2 separate regions of the Homo sapiens genome follow, and region 1 is linked to region 2. Evidence: promoter capture Hi-C in human tissues and cell types (Jung and others, 2019). All regions are on one chromosome and are shown on one strand. Each heading gives the region's core, a stretch centred on a gene start or on the middle of the fragment in contact. The rest is flanking DNA. Distances are from core to core; before and after follow the strand shown.

Region 1 (7,092 bases), core at 2,238-4,737, 300 kb after region 2:
CTTGATATGCTTCTCTTCTTCAATGCAATACATTTATTTCTGATCAATTCTGCCATTCAATAGTAGTCAAATAATTTCAAAATCATATTTTAAATGTTATTTTAATCTTGCCAATAGAATTATATTTAATGGCATCTGAGTATATGTTGTTATTTTGATATTACTCAGGTGTGGGCCTCTAAAGCAAGAGTGCCTAGGACCTATGAAGGTCTTTAAATAGCCTCAAAGCTAAGGAATGAGCTAGAGAGTTTATACACTCATTTAGCAATTAGTTGACAGATTATTATATGCCAGAAATTCTATTAGGTGTTACTGGGCATATAAATGACTATAAAACACTATTTATATCCCTTAGGAGTTAACAATATAATTAGGGAGGGTGGAACTGACTAATTGTTCACTGATCTTTGCTCTCTATTTTTTTTTTTAATATTCTGCTAAGCTACTATCAGAGTTCCCCTACAATTAGGTGAGCCATAGGACTGAGTGTGGCCAATTGGAGTATGAGCGGAATGCATATCACCTCCATATGTGGCCACCAAAAGCTTACATGAGTGTCCTCACTTTCTTTTATTTTATCTTAAACTGTTGACCGGATGTGGAGGATCCATTGCAGGCTTTTGAAGTCCTAGGGAATAGTGATTACAGTAAATGAAGCCTGGACCACTGAAGTAACTGCATGGGACAGAGTTCTCCTCAACCCCCATGCCTATATAATGTAAGATGAGCAAGAATTAAACTTTGGTTGTTTGTACCATTTAGATTTTGAAATAGTTTGTTACATCAGTTAGCATACCCTGAATAATACTGAGAGACTAAACTCAATCACCCATGACTTCAGCTTTTAAAAACTGCTAAAATAATACATAAATTTTGAAGTGGTAGGAATAATTTCTGTTTGTTAGGTTATGTGAGGGATCTTCTCTCTAATGATGAACAGCACCTGAGGCAATTGTTGATGGAATGTCACAGACCCCACCAAACACAAATCTTCCTCTTATTATTTCTCCCTTGTCCTTGTCTTTGATGTGCACATTCCCATTACATTTTTCTTTCCTTTTAGCCTTAGTTTTCCAACTGTCTGAAAATCAGCTCCATATACTACCTATTTTTGTCTACCCCCTTAGGTTTGAATTTTCAAAATTTACATTCATCTCTTTATGCATAAGATATCATTCTGTTAATTACATATTATTCCCATCTATTCTCCACTATTAAAACAAGTCCTTTAGGGCTTATAAATTTTTGTTACCATGTATTGTTATTTTTAAGTATTTCCAAGGCAGACATTTATTAAACATTGACTTTCTACCAAGTAGCAATCTAAGGGAGTGATAGATTGTAGAAATTTAACAGTTAAGGACATGAGTTCCTAGATAACATTTATTTGGAATTTAAACCCCTGCTTTTCACTTACTACATGATCTTGGATAAATTATTTGAGCCTCAATTTTCCTATTCTAAAGTGGAAATAATGACACCTGCTTCATAGAGTTGGTATATGTATATGGCTTAAATGAGATAATACACATGAAACAACAACTTTATAGTGGGGACTTAATGGATGGCAGTTACCAATATTATTATTACCATGGTTGTAATTAGTATTCATATATCTGAATTTTTAAAAATTCTGCCCACAAGGGGCTCAGCATCTAGTAATGGCCCTTTAATTGGCCATAATCAATGAAACATCATTACTTTTATTTCTTGACTACATAGACCTTCTCCTTTAGAAGTTCTCTGTAATCTGAGAGCAAATTAATCAAGTTGAAAGAATTTGTCTGTATTTAGTTCAATTTATTTAAGCTTGTAATTTTACAATATTTTTTGTAGCTCTATTGTATAATTTTTCTTTTTTGGTGACATTGTGATTTCAAGTGAGGAATTGCAGTCAAATGACATTTTTATCATTGTCTTTTATAGGTAATAAACATGATAGGCATAAACAGATTAACACTGTACTGTGCTTAAGAATGCTTAACTGAAAATATATCAATCACTTAGTGTATTCTGGCCAGAAATTTGGAAAAATGTATCTACTGATTCTGAATACTAATTAAAGGCTTAAATTACAATGATAATTCTTAGATGGTCTCCCTGCCCTCTTCCAATCCATCCTTCTACTACCTTCTCAGTGATCGTTAAAAATGCAAATCTGGTCATATGACTCCCTGATAACCTTTCCCTCCTCATTATTATAAATTACCCCATGACTTCATATATCATATAAGGTCCCTCATTAGGTAATCTCACTCACCTTTCCAGTTTCATTTATGCAGCTCCTCCATATTCAGCCTCAGCCTAAACTAGATGGAACTATTTTCAGTTCCCAGAATATACAATACTTTTGTTCAAACTGTTTCCCCTGGCTAGAGGCCTTTTCCACTTGTTTCCCAAACACCTACATGATTGGGGGACTCAAACCTCTTCTTTTGGAATTCCTTCTGCATACTTCCACTGCTTTCACCAAATAGAATTGAGCTCTGATTCATTTGTGCCCAAATGTTACCAGTAAGACTTTATGGTACACCCTTGTGTTTATATCTGTCTTGCCTATTGGCTCTATGAAGGCAAAGTAGGGATTACTTCAGTGAATAAGCCCTGTAGATCCTGTCCAGATGATCATCTCATAAATCTAAACCACATCTCTAGCTTGCCATGCTTAATATGGAACAGCAAGGGGAAGAGACGTGGTGATTAATGAAGTGGTCTTGGAATTAGTTTGAAATCAGTCATTTATTGAGTGACCTTTGCCAAATTATTTAAACTTTCCATACTTTATCTTCTCATATATTAAATAGAGATGATAATAATAATAAATGTCTCATGGGATTCTAGGTAGGATTAAATGAGTTTAATGCTTACCATTCAGTAAATATTATAATTATATTATTGTTATCCTATATAAACTTATACAGTTTTTTTTAGAAAGGTAAGATAATGTGCATCTTGTTTAAAAAAATGACACATAAATCCATTTTGGAAAGTAAATTTTTTTCTCATTTTAAATGTAGCAGAGGAATACTTAGAAATCTAACTGATCATCTTTTTTAATGAGAGGAGTTAGATTTATTTATATGGGCTTAAAGTAAGGCATATCTATACTCGTCATTAGTTTCATGTAAATTTAGATTATGAAGCATATTCATATACCAAATGCTGTACTTCCAGTCTACTAAATTGGTCATTTCAAGACATATTCCTTTTTTTTCTCTCTCTCGCTCTCTCTCTCTTCTGACTATCTCTACGTTCCTGCCATATGGAACTGCTGTAATTCCCTAAATGTGGCCTACCAATCACCCACCTAAGCTTCCACAAAGCTTCCCTCTGCCTAAATTATCTCTCCCCCATAGCTAACACTCCAACTCCAAATTCAGCTCAGTGGTTATTTCAGCTAAGATATTTTTCCACCATCTCCATCATTCTGATTTTTTCTCCCTTCCCTGTGTTACCAAAGCACCACACGTATACTCCCAACATGGAATTTATTATTGTTTTGAAATTATCTGTTTATTTTCTGTCTCTCTAACTAGACCACCTATTCCTGGGTGCAGGAATCTTCATATTTCTGGTCCTAGGACATTGATGTTTGATACAGGTGTTAAATAATATAATTAGAATAAATTGATATAATCAAGGATAAATAAATGAATACAGCTTTAAAAAGGCTATCCATAGTCAAATATCCACCAATAGTAGCATGGATAAGTAAATCATGGTATTTTCACATATGGCATACTCTATAGCAGTGGTTCTCAAGATGTAGTCCCCAGGCCAGTAGCATCAGTATCACTCACGGACTTGTTAGAAAGGCAAATGCTTGGGCTTCGCCCCAGTTCTACTGAAACTGAAACTCTGGGGGTAAAGCTCAGAAATCTGGTTTATCAAGCCCTCCAGATGCTTCTGAAGCACACTAAAGCCTAAAAATCAGTGGTCTACAATAGAGAGAGTTAATAATCTATAAATACACATAATAATATAGAATAATCTATAAATACCCACAATAATATAGACAAATTTCACAAATTCATGAAATTTGTGAATTGTTGAGTGAAAGAAGCCAGATACAGGAAAAGTATATACTATATATATAAATACATTTATATATAGTCTAAAAACAGGCAAAATTAATCATTGTTGTTAGAATGCACTGTGTTACCTTTTGTCAATCTGGCTACATAATTTGCAAGGCCCAATAGAAAATGAAAACGTAGAAACCCTTGTTAATGTTTTTAAAAATCTAGTTCTTCAAATGCTTTCCATATATCTTAGGTTCTAGAATGTTTAATCTCACAATTGTCTCCTTAAGATATATTGACTGTATCTTTAGCATCAGAAATTTTTTGAGATGCATGGGAAGAATCTGGTATCAGAACAAAACCTGATCCTTGAATAAGAAAGAATTTGGTAGAAACTAACAGGAGCTTAATATAAATGATAAGTCTTGTTTTATTTGAAACAACAGACCACAATTTATTCAGAAACACATGAAGTACTTGAAGCCCCCTTGATTTTCTGCTATTATCATACAGCATAATATATTTTTTATTCAAAGTTTAATAGATATGGCCTTGTCATTGTGCCAGTCATCTAGGACAAACAGAAACTTCAAGAATCGAAATCCTGTATAAGAAAGGTAGTAAGAAATACAGTCACTTTTCTAGTAGAAAATGTGTTAGGCATCAGTAATTTCCAGAGAATAGGTTTTGTAAGGGAGAAGAAGGGAGAGCACATCAGCCTGGGCATCTTTCGAGGGTAAAAGAAGATGGCCAAAGGAGAAAAAAAGGACACAGAACAACTTCTTCTATTTTATACTCTTGCACAAGGCCCTTCTGTATTTAAGTGTACTAGTATGCCCTAGACTCAAAGGGCAACTTATTTTGGAAGTCATAAACATTGATAGCTGTTTGCATCTGAGAGAAGCCTGTCACGGCAATTTGAGGAGTGACGTCTTTGCTGAGATTGGTGCTCTCTCAGAGGAATAAAAAGATGTCATAGTTGTAACAATTAAGACACTAGTCTCTTTTTGAACAGACAGCTCCTGGTTGGCTCCTGGGGTAAGCAGAAGAAACATTCATATTCAATTTTTAGGATTCTTGATATGTAAAACATATTGATTATAGGAGGTGTCTATTCTTTTGTATTGCACTTAAGGCTCTTATTGTTTAAGAGCTCTTACAAAAAAGGGCATGTGACTGAACAAGTAATGCCTATGCTTTTCAATCTAAATTGAAAATATAATTAAAATATGCCCATTAAGTCATGTATTTTAGAAAACGTTGCTTCTATCATCCTATGAGCTGGATCAGCTTCTTCTACTTCATAATTTTGCACCAGGTCCTTCCAGATTCAAGTGCACTAATATGCCTCGGGCTCAAACATGGCTCAAACACATGCCCAGCAACATAGTTCAATAACATCTTTCTTAATCATTGTCATCATCATTATCTAGCCAGCAAGTGGTGCATTTTGCAAATACAATTGTTCCCTTAAGGAGGTGCACATCTGCATAAACAAGATAAAGACACAGAAAATCTCAAATACTTCAAACGCTGAATAACCAAATTAATTTATATTAATAATTATGAAAACGAAATGTCACAATTCCTGCCCTTCTCCATCTGTGGGGTAAGATATTTGAATTCTAACAACTGCATGTAATTCTGTGAAAAAGAAGTCATCAGTAAAATAAAATGCAGCATATCTCAATTTTTATGGTAAAGAATATTTCTCACTATTAGAAAAAAAAACAAAACTCCTTGAAACACTAATTTGGACAGTTTTTGCAGCATCAGATTTATGTTAATTAATTCAAAAAATCTCCAAGGCCCTTTCTGCACCAGTGAAAAACTTATAACTATTTGTACTTTAGTGTTTCATTTATTAAAATCATGTATCTGACAGACAAAACTTTGAAAACCAACTTTTCCTTTTATTTTTTAAATTGACATAATAATTACACATATTTATGGGATACACAGTGGTGTTGCAATACATATAAAGTATAGTGATCAGATCAGGATAATTAGCATATCTATCATCATTTATTATTTCTTGGTGTTGGGAACATTCAATATCCTCCTTCTACCTATATAAAACTATGTATTGTTAACTGTAGTCATCCTACAGTGGAAGAACACCAGAATTTATTTCTTCTATTTGACTGTAATTTTGTATCCTTTAATCTCTCCCTATCCCTGCCTTCTCACCACCCTTCCCAGCCTCTAGTATCCTCTGGTCTACTTTTTATTTCTATGAGATCAACTTTTTTTTAGCTTCTACATATGAGTGAGAACATGTGATGTTTAATTCTCTGTTCCTTGTGAATTACACTTAACATAACGTCCTCCAGTTCCATCCATGTTACCATGAATGACAGAATTTCATTCTTTTCAAAAGTTGAGGCCGGTCGCGGTGGCTCACGCCTGTAGTCCCAGCACTTTGGGAGGCCAAGGAGGGCAGATCATGAGGTCAAGAGATTGAGACCATCCTGGCCAACATGGTAAAATATATTATATATATATGAAATTGAAGAGGATAAACAATGGAAACGCACACAACACACATGTACAAACACACACACATATATCACATTTTCTTTATCCATTCATCTGTTGTTGGACACCTAGGCTGATTTCATAACTTGGCTACTGTCAATAGTGCTACAATAAATGCAGAAGTGCAGATGTCTCTTTGATATACTGATTCCTTTTCTTTGGATAAATGCCAAGTAGTGGGATTTCAGGATCATACGGTAGTTCTGTTTGTAGTTTTTTGTGGACCCTCCATACTGTTCTCCATAGTGGATATACTAGTTTACATTCCTACCAACAGTGTGTAAGAGTTCTATTTTCTCCATATCCTCACCAGCATTTGTTGTTGTTGTTGTTGTTGTTGTTTTATTATAGCCACCCTAACTGGGGTGAGATGATACTTCACCGTGGTTTTGTTTTGTATTTCTCTGGTGATTAGTCATGTTCAGTATGTTTTTGATATATTTGTTGGCCATTGTATGCCTTTTGAGAAATGTCTGTTTTGATCACTCTCCCATTTTTAATTAGAGTTGGTTAGTTTTTGCTGTTGGTAAGT
Region 2 (6,707 bases), core at 1,530-4,029:
ACAAAGCACTTTATTTTAAAGTCTCTTGGATACAGAAAAGAGAAGAATTAGAATGCATAGCAAAAGATTGCAAACATTTCTGTTTCACTCTTGTTTTAAGGTATCAGTCAAGTAACATTATGTTTCAAATTAACTCCAAAGCTGGCAGAAATGTTAGTAAATCTGCTTATCCCTGGTCCACTTTACCAAATATGGATTCAGATTTTAATCATACACATTTTGGAGTGTTTGGAATGTGTTTCTTCTTATCTGTGATTAGAGTCAGGTACACACAGGAAGATGATAGTATCTCTGATAAGGAAACGTTATTTTGTCCATAGGCTAAATAATATTCTTTGGGGGAAGAGATATGAGTTTAAAATGTAAGCCAACAAGTATATTATGAATCAATCTGTCATAGGTATTTTTTTGTTGGGGGGAGCAGATGCCCATTCAGATCATCATACTATTGAATAACTACTAAACGTACCTACTAAGGCCTCGGAAGTTTTATGCTTAACATTAATGGTTAATAGTAAGTAGGAAAAAAGTATTATGCTCTGAAATTTTGGTGGATGTATTGATTACAGTCTTTATTTAGTAATGTTTTAATTTAAGCTTGGCAGCAAAGATTTGTGAGTTTTACTGCAAGTCATCATATTTGCTGTTACAGCAGTGCACAAGCAAAAGACATTAAGTTGGGAGAATATGCAGAGTCTTATATTTTGTTTATTCTTTCAAAGTGAAATTAAACCCTCAGACATTGTTCCAGGCAACTCAAGTTTCAATAACATTCTCCTTTGAGATATTGAGAAAATTGAGTTAAAATTGTTTTTGGGTGCATGAATTTACCATATTGTTGCTTCGATTCTTCATTCACAGTAACATATTTTTTAAGCAACAAAACAATACTGTGCAAAGTTTTTGTTAATTTCCCCTTAGTGGTCAATTGTCAATTTTGTGTAAATGAACAATTTTTTGAGGGTTGACTCTATTAAAATCTTCCTGTTTTACCCTTGTGAAGAAACTGTTTAAAAAACAGATAATATATAAAATTGTAAGTATCATTCTTGGGTGAAGATGAAGCATAAAACTATAGTAATAATTCTTTGTTAATTTTTTCAGCAGTCATTATTTGAATTCTTCTATGTTACTTAACTTTTCAATTGGTGTAGCTTTTATAAGAAACATGCAGATCACATTGATCATATATAATATTTAAAAATATACTTCATTCACTACTTTTTGTCTATCAAATGTGATATAATCACATTAATAATTTTCAAAACAGGATGATGTTAGTCATACGGGAAATCTTTTGGAATTCTGGCACTGTATATTGAGAATTCTTATAAAAATTGAGACTATGATGAAATATTGTGTTTTATTTAAAAATGGATTATAGTCCAAAAGAATTTCCCTAAGTTATGGAAATTAAATCTGGGTAGTACTAAGTCATAAATATAACAACATATTTATCTATTTCCAATTGCTCTAAAAGACACAGAAGCAAAATCCTCAGTATTCATAAATGTTATACACCAGGATAAAGGCATCACACATAATGATTGTATTTGACCATCTTTGGAATGGAAAGGAAGCCCAAACATCAAACCTGATGACTAAACCATTTAGGTGCGATAAAGAGTCCAGTTCATACTTTAGAAAGCTGAGTTAGTATTTTATTTTTCTCCCAAAGCATATATCTGCCTTTATAAGAACCAACCAACCGTATGAATGAGAACTGGAGTCAAGGTTAAAGTAATCTTGCCCAAGAGAGTAGAGTGTGTTTGCATCGGAAAGAAGCAGCGGCTCAGCTCAGATGAATATTAATAACAACCGGAGGCAGCACCTCCCCTGAAAAACATTAGAGCTCCTTGGACATGTGTTTGAAATTCATCCTCCCAAGTCATCCTGTGACTATTGGAGTAGATGGCAATGTCCCATAATGTGAAGGGGGAAAATACACTATAAATCGTTTTTTAAATATAACACTTTAAAAAATGAAACGAAAGTGACAGAGTGTTCTAAGTCAAGCAACCTTTTCAGATGGTAAAGGAAAAGCTTTGTCTTTCCTATTATTGTTTGCCCTTCAGTTGACATACATGCTGAGATGCATCAATAGGATTACAACGGAAACACGGTCATCTCTAGGGTTTCCTCTGTTTCGATTCCTTGATCCTGTTTAAAGAAACAGGCTCAGGGAATGCACAGAAAACAAACTTCCCCAATCGAAGTTCTGAGGTCTTCCCTCCCCTTCTCCCACCTTCGGAAACCGGTCTAGTTTTCCCGGCAGCACCGGACAGAAATGTCACGGTCATGTTGCATCACTTCACTTGTTGAGCTGTGCGAAGGCAGCACTTGACCACAGAAACTTGGTGAACCGCCTTGCTCTTAAATTAGCCCCCAAGAATTCTCTCCAGCCCTATAGAAATGTCTTACCTGCATGTGTCCCTGGTACATTCTGCTTCGGTTTCTTCAGGGCTCCCTGAGGCCACCGGATGCTTTTCCCCCGTGCTTACTTGCCCACCAAAAGAGGGGAAAAGGTGGGTGCACAGCGGGTTCTCAGAGGGTGCTCCTGAGCCCCCTGGAGCTCCGGGTACTCGGCCGGCCGGCGGCCACTCGGCAGCGCTGCGGGCTGCCGGGAACTGTTCTCCGCTCGGGGTGCTGAAAGCGGACGCGGGAGAGCGCGCAGAGAAGGCGAGGAGCCGGGTCGGCCAGGCTCTCCTGCAGGCGCGGGTCCTGCTCGCGGGGCGTCTCTAGAACTCACTCCTTCTTCGCCGAACTCTTTCTCGCTTCCTGCCAGGTTGCCTCATGTCTCTCTCTCTCTGAGCTGCGAACCCCCTCCTCCCAGCCCTGACGTGAGCGCCTACACCAGCCGCCGCCGCAGCTGCCGAGCGGGGCGCGCGCCGTTCTCCCAGCCGCGTGCCTGCCGAGAGGCCGCGGGACCGGGCACGCGCGCGCGTTCCCAGGGGCCTGGGAGCGGCCCGAGGGCGGCCCCGGGCGGTGCGCGCTCCCCGAGCGCGTCCTCGGGGCTGCGCGCGCGCGGCGGCAAGGCGAGGTGCCGGCAGGCGGTGGTCGCGCTGGTGTACAACGCCCGCAGCAGCGCGGCGTTCAGGTGCGGCGTCGGCGGGCAGGGCGATTCTAGCGGAGAGGATGGCCGGCCGGAAGAAAGGCGGGAAGACATGCATCGTCTCTCCGGGGGCCATCCACCGCGGCTGAGCCTGTTATCCTACAGACATTATAGGCTGAGTGCAGGGGTTGCCGAAGAGTTTACTTCGGTTCTGATTCAGCTCTCGAAAGTTACGTCCGTATCACCCGTTAAATAAAGACTCCCCGCTCCCCTCATCCCCAGTTCATCGCCGAGCATTCTATTTAAAACGGCAAACCCTAGTCCCTGAGGATCTGGCATGTTTTATTTTTTTCCCTAGCACGTAACATCACCTAACATCCTTTATATTTTCCATATTTATTTTATGTACTGTCTGTCTCTCCCTCTGTACAATGTTATTTCCATGAGATCAGGGACTTTTTTTTAGGGGGGTGGAGTGTTGCACTTGGTTTTGCACGTGTGTGCACAGTAAGGTATTTAGTACTTCCTGACACATGGCAGGCACACAATAAATATTTGCTGAATGAATAGACCTTTACTACTATACACTTACACACACATACACACATATATGAAGAGTGCATTTAAATATGTCTCAAGTTGAGACTGGGTAGTTTGATGTGTCTACACAATAAATGTTCATATATACACACACACCACGGGGTGGTGTATACTGTGATTACCTAATTTTGTTGGTAAAAACATCTCCAATTCTACAGGCCCCTCATATTATGTACAGCATGATATCCCCAAAATATTGCATATAGCATAATATGCTTTTTATAAAGTTTAAAAAATCCCTAGAAATGTCAATGTGTATTCATATATTCATATACAACAATATAAAAAGGAAAGCAGTGGAACAATGAATATAGTGTTCAGAGTGTTGGTGACCCTGGGTGAAGGGAGGCAGGGAAATAGATGGGGAAGCATTTCACTTGAAGTTTAGATGTTAATGTCTTATCTTCTATGCCGGGTAGTGATTCATAGGACACCTAATATCCTATTAAAAATTACTGTGTAACTAAATAAAATAGAACCATGTATGGACTAATGAGGAGAATGTGAAATGAACAAAAGGATGTGAAATGAACCAATTCAATGCATCTGAGGTCCTAAAACAACCAACCAAACAAACACAAAAGGACTAAGACCTGTAAGCAGGAGACATGGATTCCTATTAGATTCCACTAGTAGTTACCCTTGGACAATTTCCTTTTACTACTTTGGACATCAGTTTTTTCATGTCTAAACTCTGTATAAAAAACTTATTTTTTTTACCCTGAAAATAGAGATATGTTCATAAGCACTGTAAACTGTAAAATGTCATCCAGTTCTTATTTTATTGTTCTTTATAGGACAAAGCACAGGACTTGGAGTCAGCAACAAGAGGTGCTAGTTCCATCTCACTACCTCAATGCTCTCTTGGGCAAGTGTACCAACTCTCTATTTCCTCAATTTTGAAATAAGACAAATATCTACCTAGTGTGCTGCACAGAGCTGCTGAGGACTGAATGTATGCAAAGGAAGTTGTAAATTACCAACCATGATATATGAATATGCAAACAGACTTTTTTTTCCCAGTTCAGAAAAGATGAGGACTGATTTTCTGAGACCTCAAGTACTGCAGATTTTAAAATGGTACTAATTATCATATAATACTATCATGTTATATAAAAACTGGGAAAAGTATAGTGCTTTGATTTAAAAGTACTAGAAATCTGTGAAGTAACAATAGGGTCAAAGTTTTCCAATCCATTATATGCTTGTTATTATCTAACGGCAGGTTCAAGGAGCCAACAACCATAAAAGCATTTGGATCAGAATGGCAACTGCCTAGTGTTGAAGCTAGAACTCAATATATTCTCTTCTTAAACCTGAGTCACTGATTTCGTTACTGCCTACATTCTCAAAATCTCAGGAGTGAAAGCTTTCCTTTGTGAAGAATTCCTCTTCACACTTATTCCTTCTGTTAGAAGATAAACTAAGGCACATTAAAATTTTAAAGGGTTTTTTGAGCAAATAGCCATTCATGCATCAGGCAGCAGCAGACCGAAAGCAGTTGGGGACTCTGTCGGAAGTCGTTAAAGGGAAAGATTTTATAGGGTAAATGTGGAAGCAGAGCAAAGAAATTATTTGGTTAAAGAGGAATACTGGATTTATTTGGATCATTCTAATGGAAAGTCCATAGTTAGAGGTTAGTTTGTGGTTTCTGATTGGTTAAGCTTAACTTTCACTTTCCTAGACTATTTCTTAGACTAGGAATGAGATTTGAATTATCTTTATTTTCCTCAGAAACAATGCATGTCTAATAAGCTAGGTCCAGAAAAATATTTTACAAAAGATTTATTTTGTAATTAAATTTGAAGACCCTTGTTACTCAAAACGTGGTGTGTGGACCAGCAACATCAGCATGTCCTGGGAGCTTGTAAGAAATGCAGACTCTTGGGTGCCATTTCTGACCTACTGAATTAGAATATGCGTTTCAACAAGATCCCCAGGTGCTTGTATGCACCATAAAATTTGACCAGCACTGTGGCCTAGAAGGTTTATTTATTCATGTAAATATGTGGCAAAGCTAGCTCTTGCCTTTTGCAGTGATAACACATGAGCAACCTCAGTACCACTAGAGAAGAAGAATGCATATTGCACTCCATTTATAAAATAATCTCACTGTATTTTGAGTGGTCAGTGGACTTGGCATAAAATCATAGCACATTCAGCTTTCTTACAGCAAGAAATGTGCTTAGTACCACTGCAATTTTAATCACTGTAATACAATTAAATAATTGAGAGGTAGCAGTAGAATCTATTTTGTATTGACAAAATTTAATTTTGCTTATTAGTAAGCGAATCCTCCTGCATTTCAAATGGGTATTGAAAATTCAGGATTTATTAAATCTTTGAAAAAACTTAGTAAAAATGATGAGGTTAGTGTTCTTGTGGACTTAAAAATCAGAGATAAGAGTCTTTTGATGATTCAATCATTCTTTCATAATCTGTAGAATTCAAACTCTGGTGCTGAAAGATGGTGCAGGAGAGAACAAAAGTCAAAATAATTGTAGACCAAAATTAAAATGACTAATTGGTATTTGTTGTTCAATCAGAAGGAGGAACATTTTGTTAAAGTTTGCCCACTTACCCTTTTTGTCTCTTCGACACATAGAATGAGATTAGCTGGTGTTTCAGGGCATTTGATCTGGAAAAAATTTGGGAACCCCAGGCTGCCAGGAAGAATTATGAATAATAAGAGTATGTGGACTCTGATGACGAGGAGATGGCAGCAATGTTCTTCCAAATGAACAAACAAGCTGGATGCTTCAGAGCTGGGCCTCCTATTAAACCAATTTAAGAAATTACACTATATTTGTTTACTCTTTAGGACAATGTTTTTTCAGTGATCCAATATTGCTTTTAATATTAAGTGTACTTTCTAGAGTTTCTTATTCCTGGTGAGAAAACATTTGTGAACAAAAATATTTCTTGCTTTTGACTACTCCTTTCTACTGTTGCCACTGCCATCCTAGCCCAGATTCCCTAAACCTCTTATCACTTAAAGCTAGTTTTATCACCTCCGTTCATCTCCTACATCAACCTGTCATATACATCGCAGCCA

Evidence for each region. The method cuts DNA at HindIII sites, captures the fragments that hold promoters and counts their contacts. A contact is called where the count stands out against the background at its distance.
Region 1: a fragment that was not itself captured here is called in contact with the fragment with the promoter of PEX5L in region 2 in 1 of the 25 tissues and cell types used here (H1 embryonic stem cells).

What each region holds. Positions count from the first base shown.
Region 1 is chr3:180,336,794-180,343,885 of GRCh38, forward strand. No RefSeq gene overlaps it. Among named protein-coding and RNA genes, the nearest start is that of LINC02053, 74 kb to the right of the region's middle. The HindIII fragment of the contact is 4,621 bases long and covers 1,178-5,798 here.
Region 2 is chr3:180,034,158-180,040,864 of GRCh38, forward strand. PEX5L (peroxisomal biogenesis factor 5 like) reads right to left here and starts at 2,780. Exons shown (of 15, transcript NM_016559.3): 1 at 2,422-2,780. The coding sequence starts at 2,442. RefSeq lists a silencer at 2,846-2,895. The HindIII fragment of the contact is 6,291 bases long and covers 1,321-6,707 here.